3 separate regions of the Homo sapiens genome follow, and all the other regions are linked to region 2. Evidence: promoter capture Hi-C in 16 types of primary human blood cells and fetal thymus (Javierre and others, 2016). All regions are on one chromosome and are shown on one strand. Each heading gives the region's core, a stretch centred on a gene start or on the middle of the fragment in contact. The rest is flanking DNA. Distances are from core to core; before and after follow the strand shown. Region 1 holds the start of HNRNPL (heterogeneous nuclear ribonucleoprotein L). Region 2 holds the start of RASGRP4 (RAS guanyl releasing protein 4). Region 3 has its middle 10 kb from the start of LGALS7B.

Region 1 (3,083 bases), core at 46-2,545, 420 kb before region 2:
GATACCCTCCGACATTCTCTTGGTGCAGTGCGGGTGGTCTTACCCCGCCCTTGAGGAAGAAAGGCCCGACGCAGGCACAGATCACAAGAACGCCTCCCCTGTGCAGGGGGCTTGCACTGTGCCAGGTGCTGTACTGGGCGCTTGGTAGGTGGCCACCCTCTCCAGGGTCGGGGCCAGGACCTCCTGTGGTGCTCAGAGGGGTCGAGCTGTCAGGTGAAAACCACTGGCCCGAGTTATGGCTTTGAAGGGAATCCTGGGGGTCTGGGATGGCAGGGACCTGTTAATTTAGATCGCACGGACAAGATGACTTGGCCCTTAGCTCCTGCAGGAGGGGTAGTGGACTATTGCAGGTGGAAGGGACTGCATGGGCACACATGGAGAGTGCGCGGAAGAGCCTTCTCCCAAGGGAAACTGAAAGGGGTTGCGGCTGAATTTAGAACTGGACAGGGTCCGAAGACAGTCGGCAGCAGCGAGTGGTTTTCTACTGAGGAAAAGGCTCAGATTTGGGATTTTAACAATTCCTCCTAGAGGTAGAAATGAACACGGTATAGTGATGGCGACAGAGATACCCTGGGAGTTCCTGTCAATCTTGGTCTAGCCTTCCGGCGCACACACAGCGGTCGCTCCATAAGGGGGCCCCGCCTCTGGGCGGTGCCTGAAAGCGTATTTGCGCATGCGTTCTCGCCTTCGCTCGTTTCGTATACTGCACCAAAGAGCGCCTACCCTGGGGCGGGGCTCCCCATTTCATCCAATCAGAGCGTATCAACAGTCCTACCATCTGGTGAGAGGGTGCGCTCCACTCTCCATTGACCAATCAGTGGAGACGCAGAAGAATGGGCATCTGTAACCACCACTGGAGAGAGACCAAAAAAGGGCGGGGCTTCCTTGTCTCCTTGCGAAGTGGCGCGGGAAGGTCGTCATTGTGACTGGTGCTGACGGATTAGCGAGGAGACCAATGAAAGTGGGAGGGAGGCGGAGATTCTTGGGAGGTTTAGAGCGCCGTTCCTATCAGGTGCTTTTAGGGAGGCCAGCAGCGCCAGAAATCCGACCTATCAAATTGGATTTTATTTTAAGGCGGCGGGGTCGACGGAAAGACTGGCAGAAAGCGACCACCTATAAGGAGTGTCTCAGACAAACAAGGGCGGGCCCTCCTGCAGAACGGCGTGGGCAATGTCCAATAAGCGCGCAAGGCGTGTGGCGGCCTACCCTCCCCCCGCGGCGGGACCAGTGGCTCCCCCTATCGGGTGGGGGCGGCGGGTGACGGGCGTGTCCCTCCCCCAATGAGAGGCGGGGGGAGGCGGGTTCTGCGCCGCCATGTCGCGGAGGCTGCTGCCCCGGGCGGAGAAGCGGCGTCGGCGGCTGGAGCAGAGGCAGCAGCCGGACGAGCAGCGGAGGCGGTCGGGAGCGATGGTGAAGATGGCGGCGGCGGGCGGCGGAGGCGGCGGTGGCCGCTACTACGGCGGCGGCAGTGAGGGCGGCCGGGCCCCTAAGCGGCTCAAGACTGACAACGCCGGCGACCAGCACGGAGGCGGCGGCGGTGGCGGTGGAGGAGCCGGGGCGGCGGGCGGCGGCGGCGGTGGGGTGAGGCCAGGGCCCTAGGCGCTGGGAAGGCCGGGAACTGGGGGACAATTTCCCAGCTTGAGGGCATTTTATTTTTTGAGGGGGGCCTCTGCGCACGCGCCCAGGCCATCGCGTCGTTGACGGTGTGGGGGAGGGGCGGCCGTTGGGCAAACGGCGGGGTTTGCGCGAGGACAGGCGCCTGCGCGTGCGCGGGGTCCGGAGCGGGGTGTGGGGGAGCGCAGAGGAAGTAGCTCGTGAGGCGAATGGCCCAGTGCGCAGGCGCCGCGGGCTGGCGTGTGGGGGCCGGGCACGCGGCCCGGCCGGTTTTTTTCCCCTTTATCATTTTCTTCGCTGGCTCCATGCGCAGGCGCAGTGTTCCCGCCCGGCCTCGTGGGCGGTTAGGGGAGCGCCTGGTGAGCGGGAACGGGTGGGCGGCGGCCTTGTTCTCTAGAGTGGGGAATTCCGTCTGATGGCAGCTTAATCTCTAAGGCCCAGCCTTGTGTCTATACAGAAATGGATGTGTTTGAGCCTAGATGCTCTCATTTTTGTAGGCATTGAAAATGGGAAGAGGACTTGTGAAATGCACTTTTAGCCTTTTAGGAGTTGAGCGAAGCCTTGAAACCATCACAAGTTTGCTTACAGTTTCCGGGGATTCACTGGGTACCGAGGATTTGATAAACCAAACTATTTCCTGGCCATGTTGGAAGCATTTCGACCCCCTGTAATCAGTCCCTCCGAAAACACCAGTCGTTGCTTTTGGAGTGGGGCCCAGTCCCCACTCTTTCCAAAATCTTGAAGTCTTACAGGGCCGCCTATTTGCAGGGTTTTCCAGGGTTTAGGGGTTACGAGTTGCTAGCGTTTTAATCTTGGCCTTGTCCCACACATTTTAAAGACATCTTAATTGAAAATCCTTAACGCTTCCTGAGGTTGGGGGAGATACTGGGATTCCCGATTTACAAAGGAGGAAATGGGCCAGGAGAGAGATGAGATGAGGTGAATTACTGTAGGTGGCACAGCTAGTGAGGGGCAGGGCTGGAGTTAGAACTCCCATTTGTGGGAGCTGCTAACCTGGCGGGAGTGCCTCACCCTGTGGTTCGCGTGGATCGCTCCTGAAATAGAATCCAATTCTACCCACCTTCCACGCACTTCTGCCCAGTGATTCTCAGACAGGGGGCCGGCCCCAGAGCCCAGGAGAGGCGGAAGAGAGTTAATCTTTCTCCTGATGACCAGAGGCTTTTGTCGGTGGGTGTAAGATACTTCTCTTAGGAAGGAGCAGTCGGTTCTTAATGGTATGGGTTGGAGTCTCTGGTCTTTCTAAAAGACTTTCCATCCGGGAGTGGGGGCTCATGCCTATAATCCCAGCACTTTGGGAGGCTGAGGCAGGCAGATTACCTGAGGTCAGGAGTTCGAGAACAGCCTGGTCAACATGGCAAAACTCCGTCTCTACTAAAAATACAAAAAAATTAGCCAGGTGTGGTGGCGAGGGCCTGTAATTCCAGCTACTCGGGAGGCTGAGGCAGGAG
Region 2 (2,977 bases), core at 198-2,697:
AATACTTAATGATTCGTGATCTTTTTTGTACTTCAATTTAAAAAAAAGTGTCGAGCATGACACATTTAGGTAAAAAGAAAAAAATGCACACTCAAAAGAAAAGTCTGTTTCTAGGAGCACATGTTTATATGATGTGCTTAAACGCACAGACAGCAGTTTGGACGAAACTCGACAACGTGTCATATTGGTCACACCCTGCTTAAGAAAGGCAGGGGATGGGGAGGGGCTTCCCCAAGGCTTTACCTCCATCTCTAATGTTTTTTGATGTGTGTGTGTGTTTTTTTTTTTTGTTTTTTGTTTTTTGAGACAGGGTCTGGCTCTGCCACGCAGACTGAAGTGCAGTGGCACCATCATGGTTCACTGCAGCCTCGACCTCCTTGGGCTCAAGCAATCTTCTAGCCTCAGCCTCCTGAGTAGCTGGGACTACAAGTGTGCATCACTACGCTCAGCTAACTTTTTTTTTTTGAGACAGAGTTTCGCTCCTGTTGCCCAGGCTGGAGTGCAATGGCGCGATCTCGGCTCACGGCAACCTCCGCCTCCTGGGTTCAAGCAATTCTCCTGCCTCAGCCTGCCGAGTAGCTGGGATTACAGGCATGTGCCACAACGCCTGGCTAATTTTGTATTTTTAGTAGAGACGGGGTTTCTCCATGTTGCTCAGGCTGGTCTTAAACTCCCAACCTCAGGTGATCCGCCCACCTCGGCCTCCCAAAGTGCTGGGATTGCAGGAGTGAGCCACCACACCGGCCTAACGTTTTACATTTTTTGTAGAGACGGGGTTTTGTCACGTTGTTCAAGCTGGTCTCAAACTCTTAGACTCAAGCGATCCGCCTGCCTTGGCCTCCCAAAGTGCTGGATGACAGGCGTGAGCCCCTGTGAGCCCCCGTGCCTGGTCCGGTATGTAATTTTTTTTAAGGTAACAGTGGATTGTGTGAGGATTAAATGAGTTAATATTTTTAAAGTCCTTACAGCAGTGTGTGGTACACAGTAGGTGCTATGTGGAGGTTTGTTACAATAAAGTCAGAAAGTGAAAATGTTTTCCAGGGTACAAATGGTATCACTTAAACTAGGAATAAGAGACGCCTATGAAGAAATATACAAAATACTATGTCTTGTGAGTTTCCATTCAAACCTTCATGAATTATATATATGAATATGTCCTTCTAGACAGACAGACTTATCTTTTTGAGTGAGTGTGTGTGTTTTTACATAAATATCAGTCATGCTTTAAAAAGAAAAGCCCCTTCTTTTATTGAAGTATGACAGTGACGGGTCTCGACACCGAAAGATGGGGGAGATAGAGAGCCCGCCGGGGAGCTTGAGGGTGGGAGAGCCAGCGATGCCGGAAACCTCAGCAGAAGGGATCCCCGTGTGGGGGAGGGGGGCCTTCGGTCTCTCCCCAGCCTCTTCCTTCCCCCTGGCCTGAGGGTGGGTGGGGAGGGGCAGTTCCTCTTTCCTTCCCAAGCACCGAGGAGGCCCCAGCTCCCTAGGGGCTGAGAAGCTGGAGTCCTGGGCAAGGGGAGGAGCTGAGCCCTACTCTTGCAAGACCCCCGGCCTCCTCACCCCACGCGGGAAGCATGAACAGAAAAGACAGTAAGAGGTGAGAGGACCCTCCCCAGGGAGCCCGGCAGCACCCTGAGGCCTCCCTCTGCATGGGAGGGCTGGGGAGATCACTCGCCAGGGTGGCAGGATTCCTGACTTCTTTGGGATCAGGCGCAGGGGGGCCAGGTGGATGCTTCAGGGAGTCTGGAGCCAGCTACGGCTGCAGTCGCTTGTATGTGGCATCTGTACCGTGTTGTCCCTGGAGTTTGAGCTGCTCCGTGCCCCTTTTCCACTCCTCATCACCCCACCTCCATCCCTGGCCTGGGCTGAGTGTCTCTGCCCTCCCTGGGGGCTTCCTGGTTCCCCATCCCCGTGGACTGGAAACTCCAGGCTCCTGCAGGGCCTGGCCCAGGAGAGGGGAGTGTGGCACAGGGCAAGGCGACTCCCCTGCCTCTTAAACCACTCCTGGCTGTTCCAGACCCCTACAGGGGGCTGCAGGACAGGGCCTAGTGGCTGGCTGTGCGGCCGGTTCTGGAATGGGCTTCATCTCCTGGGCAAGCTGGCCCTTCTGTCCCCACAGAGGCAGATGGTGGGTGGCTCCCTAGCCTGGGTAACTCCTCCTGCCACCCCCAGCACCACTCTGATGGGCAAAGGGCTTTCCTCCCCACCCAGCAGTTTAGTGGTAGACTCCTGGCTGCCTAATTTCCTAGCTGTGTGACCTTAGGTAAGTCACTTAACTGCTCTGTGTCTCGGGTTTTTCTTCTGTCAGTAGAACAATCATATCCTCTACCTCGGAGAGGCCTGTAAGTACTCAATGAGACACTCTAGACCAGTGGTTCTCAAACTGGAGCGAGCCTCAGAACTGTCTGGAGGGCTTGTAAAATACAGGTTGCTGGGCTTACCTTTAAAGTGTTTGGTTTTTTTTTTTTTGTTTTTTTTTTTTGAGACGGAGTCTCGCTCTGCCGCCAGGCTGGAGTGCAGTGGCACAATCTTGGCTCACTGCAACCTCTGCCTCCCGGGTTCAAGCGATCATCCTGCCTCAGCCTCCCAAGTAGCTGGGACTACAGGTGTGCACCACCACACCCAGCTACTTTTTTGTATTTTTAGTAGAGATGGGGTTTCACCATGTTGGGCAGGATGGTCTCGATCTCTTGACCTCGTGATCCACCCACCTCGGCCTCCCAAAGTGCTGGGATTAGAGGCATGAGCCACCACCCTTAGCCTTAAAGTGTTTGATTTTGTAGGTCTGGGTTGGGACCTGAGAATCTGTATTGATATCCAGTTCCCAGGTGATGCTTTTGGTACTAGCTGGGTGCCCACACTTAGGGAAATGCTGACTTAGTTAGAATGCTCCTTCCTTAGCCTAGGACATATATAATACTTTAAAATGTCCCTTCTAGTAACGATGGCTCATGCCTCTAATCCCAGCACTTTGGGA
Region 3 (2,730 bases), core at 165-2,664, 370 kb before region 2:
ATCCATCCAAACATCTAACCATATACCAGTCTATCTGTCTATTCATTCAGCCATCCTTACGAAGTCTAACTTTCGTCCATCCATTCATTTATTCATCCCTCCATTTGTCCATGTAATTCTCTGCTTTCCATCACAGTCATCCATTTGTCCTCCATATGCCCATTCATCCCTCCATTCAGCAATTCATCACTTTTCCATCTCTTTCTATCCAATTATCCATTCATCTCTTCATTATCTATTTTTTTCCAACCCTTTTCCAACTCAAGCTGGAAAGTTATCCATTCATTTATATTTTCTTCTCTCCATCTGTCCACCCAACCATGCTTTCATCAAATCACTCTTTTGCTGATTTCATCATTCATTGATTTCTTGTTTTTATTTTTATTTATTTTTTTTTTGAGACAGAGTTTTGCTCTTGTCATCCAGGCTGGAGTGCAATGGTGCTGTCTCAGGTCACTGCAACTGCCATCTCCCGTTCAAGCAATTCTCCTGCCTCAGCCTCCTGAGTAGCTGGAATTACAGGCACCCACCACCACGCCCAGCTAATTTTTGTATTTTTAGTAGAGACAGGGTTTTGCCATGTTGGCCAGGCTGGTCTTGAACTCCTGACCTCAGGTGGTGCGCCTGCCTCCGCCTCCCAAAGTGCTGGGATTACAGGCGTGGGCCACCGTGCCTGGCCCATTCATTGATTTCTTTCTTTTTTTTCTTTCTTTTTTTGAGACGGAGTCTTGCTCTGTCGCCAGGCTGGAGTGCAGTGGTGCCATCTCAGCTCACTGCAACCTCCGCCTCATGGGTTCAAGTGATTCTCCTGCTTCAGCCTCCTGAGTAGCTGGGGCTACAGGCATGCGCCACCATGCCCAGCTAATTTTTGTATTTTTAGTAGAAACAGGGTTTCACCATGTTGGCCAGGATGGTCTCAATCTCTTGACTCGTGATACACCCACCTTGGCCTCCCAAAGTGCTGGGATTACAGGCGTGAGCCACTGCCCCCAGCTGATTTCTTTACATTTTCATTCATCCATCTATTCTTTATTCACTCTCGTGTTTACTTATTCACCAGTCACTGACTCATCCACTTTCAAATTAGCTGGGTTGGCTTTCTGATGTAATGGGTTAGCAAGCTTCAGGACAAACCATGAAGTGACGAATTAAACCCTCTATATTATTAATTGGATAAAATGCTGTAAAACCGGTTATTAGCATGACTCAAACTAAGTTTAAATGTTTGCATGTCTAAAGCAACTTTCTGGAGTGATGGATATGTTCCATACCCTAGGTCACACAGCTCTGTGCATTTGTTAGAACTCATTGGCTGTATATTTTATTTTATTAAATTCTTTTTATTTTTGTTTTTATTGAGACAGGATCTCACTCTATTGCCCAGGCTGGAGTGCAGTGGTGTGATCACAGCTCATTGCAGGCTCAACCTCTGGGACTCAAGTGATCCTCCCACTCCAGCCTCCCAGGTAGCTGGGACCACAGGTGTGCACCACCATGCCCAGCTAATTAAAAATATATATATTTATAAAGACGGGGGTCTCCTTATGTTGCTCAGGCTGATCTCGACTCCCTGGGCTCAAGCAATGCTCCTGCCCTAGCCGCCCAAAGTGTCGGGATTACCGGCGTGAGTCGCTGTGCCCAGCCAACTGTACATTTTAGATTTGTGCATTTCACCAATATAAACAAAGAATCTTTCCGCAAAGCTTACCACAAGGAAAGAATCATAAACAAATATTGTACTCTAGCTAATGATGTACTTCTGAAATGTTTAGGGGTGACAAATACTGATGTTTACAATTTACTTCGAATGGATAAGTAAATAAAATGATGGCTGGGTGCGATGGCATGAGCCTGTAATCCCAGCACTTTGGGAGACGAGGTGGGAAGATTGCTTGAGCCCAGGAGTTCAAGACCAGCCTGGGCAACATGGCGAGACCCTGTCTCTACAAAAAATAAAAAAGTAAGCCAGATGTAGCAAACATCTGTAGTTCCAGCTGCTAGGGAGGCTGAGGCAGGAGGTTGGCTTGTGCCCAGGAGTTCAACGCTGCCGTGAACCATAATCAGGCCACTGCACTCTAGTCTGGACAACAGAGCAAAACTCTGTTTCTAAAAAAATACAAAATAGCTCCCTCCCCCTCCCCCTCCCCCTCTCCCTCTCCTCTTTCCACGGTCTCCCTCTGGACTGTGCTGCTGCCATCTCGGCTCACTGCAACCTCCCTGCCTGATTCTCCTGCCTCAGCCTGCCGAGTGCCTGCGATTGCAGGCGCGCGCCGCCACGCCTGACTGGTTTTCGTATTTTTTTGGTGGAGACGGGGTTTCGCTGTGTTGGCCGGGCTGGTCTCCAGCTCCTAACCGCGAGTGATCCGCCAGCCTCGGCCTCCCGAGGTGCCGGGATTGCAGACGGAGTCTCGTTAACTCAGTGCTCAATGGTGCCCAGGCTGGAGTGCAGTGGCGTGATCTCAGCTACAACCTCCACCTCCCAGCCGCCTGCCTTGGCCTCCCAAAGTGCCAAGAGTGCAGCCTCTGCCCGGCCGCTACCCCGTCTGGGAAGTGAGGTGCGTCTCTGCCTGGCCGCCCATCATCTGGGACGTGAGGAGTCCCTCTGCCTGGCTGCCCAGTCTGGAAAGTGAGGAGCGTCTCTGCCCGGCCGCCATCTCACCTAGGAAGTGAGGAGCACCTCTTCCCGGCCACCATCCCATCTAGGAAGTGAGGAGCGTCTCTGCCCGGCCG

The links. Contacts are between HindIII fragments. The CHiCAGO score rates a contact against its expected background, and 5 or more counts as called.
Region 1: a contact is called between the fragment with the promoter of HNRNPL here and the fragment with the promoter of RASGRP4 in region 2, in 1 of 17 cell types (neutrophils). The highest score is 8.5, in neutrophils.
Region 3: a fragment that was not itself captured here is called in contact with the fragment with the promoter of RASGRP4 in region 2 in 1 of 17 cell types (neutrophils); the score reaches 5.6 in neutrophils.

What each region holds. Positions count from the first base shown.
Region 1 is chr19:38,848,198-38,851,280 of GRCh38, reverse strand. It overlaps HNRNPL (heterogeneous nuclear ribonucleoprotein L), which reads left to right and starts at 1,295. Exons shown (of 13, transcript NM_001533.3): 1 at 1,295-1,581. The coding sequence starts at 1,315. RefSeq lists enhancers at 518-587, 918-1,007, 1,158-2,095, 2,168-2,257, 2,096-3,034 and silencers at 1,158-1,417, 1,428-1,967. The HindIII fragment of the contact is 20,955 bases long and covers 1-3,083 here.
Region 2 is chr19:38,424,689-38,427,665 of GRCh38, reverse strand. RASGRP4 (RAS guanyl releasing protein 4) reads left to right here and starts at 1,447. Exons shown (of 17, transcript NM_170604.3): 1 at 1,447-1,597. The coding sequence starts at 1,575. RefSeq lists an enhancer at 105-619 and a silencer at 1,512-1,571. The HindIII fragment of the contact is 20,985 bases long and covers 1-2,977 here.
Region 3 is chr19:38,798,220-38,800,949 of GRCh38, reverse strand. No RefSeq gene overlaps it. Among named protein-coding and RNA genes, the nearest start is that of LGALS7B, 10 kb to the right of the region's middle. The HindIII fragment of the contact is 582 bases long and covers 1,124-1,705 here.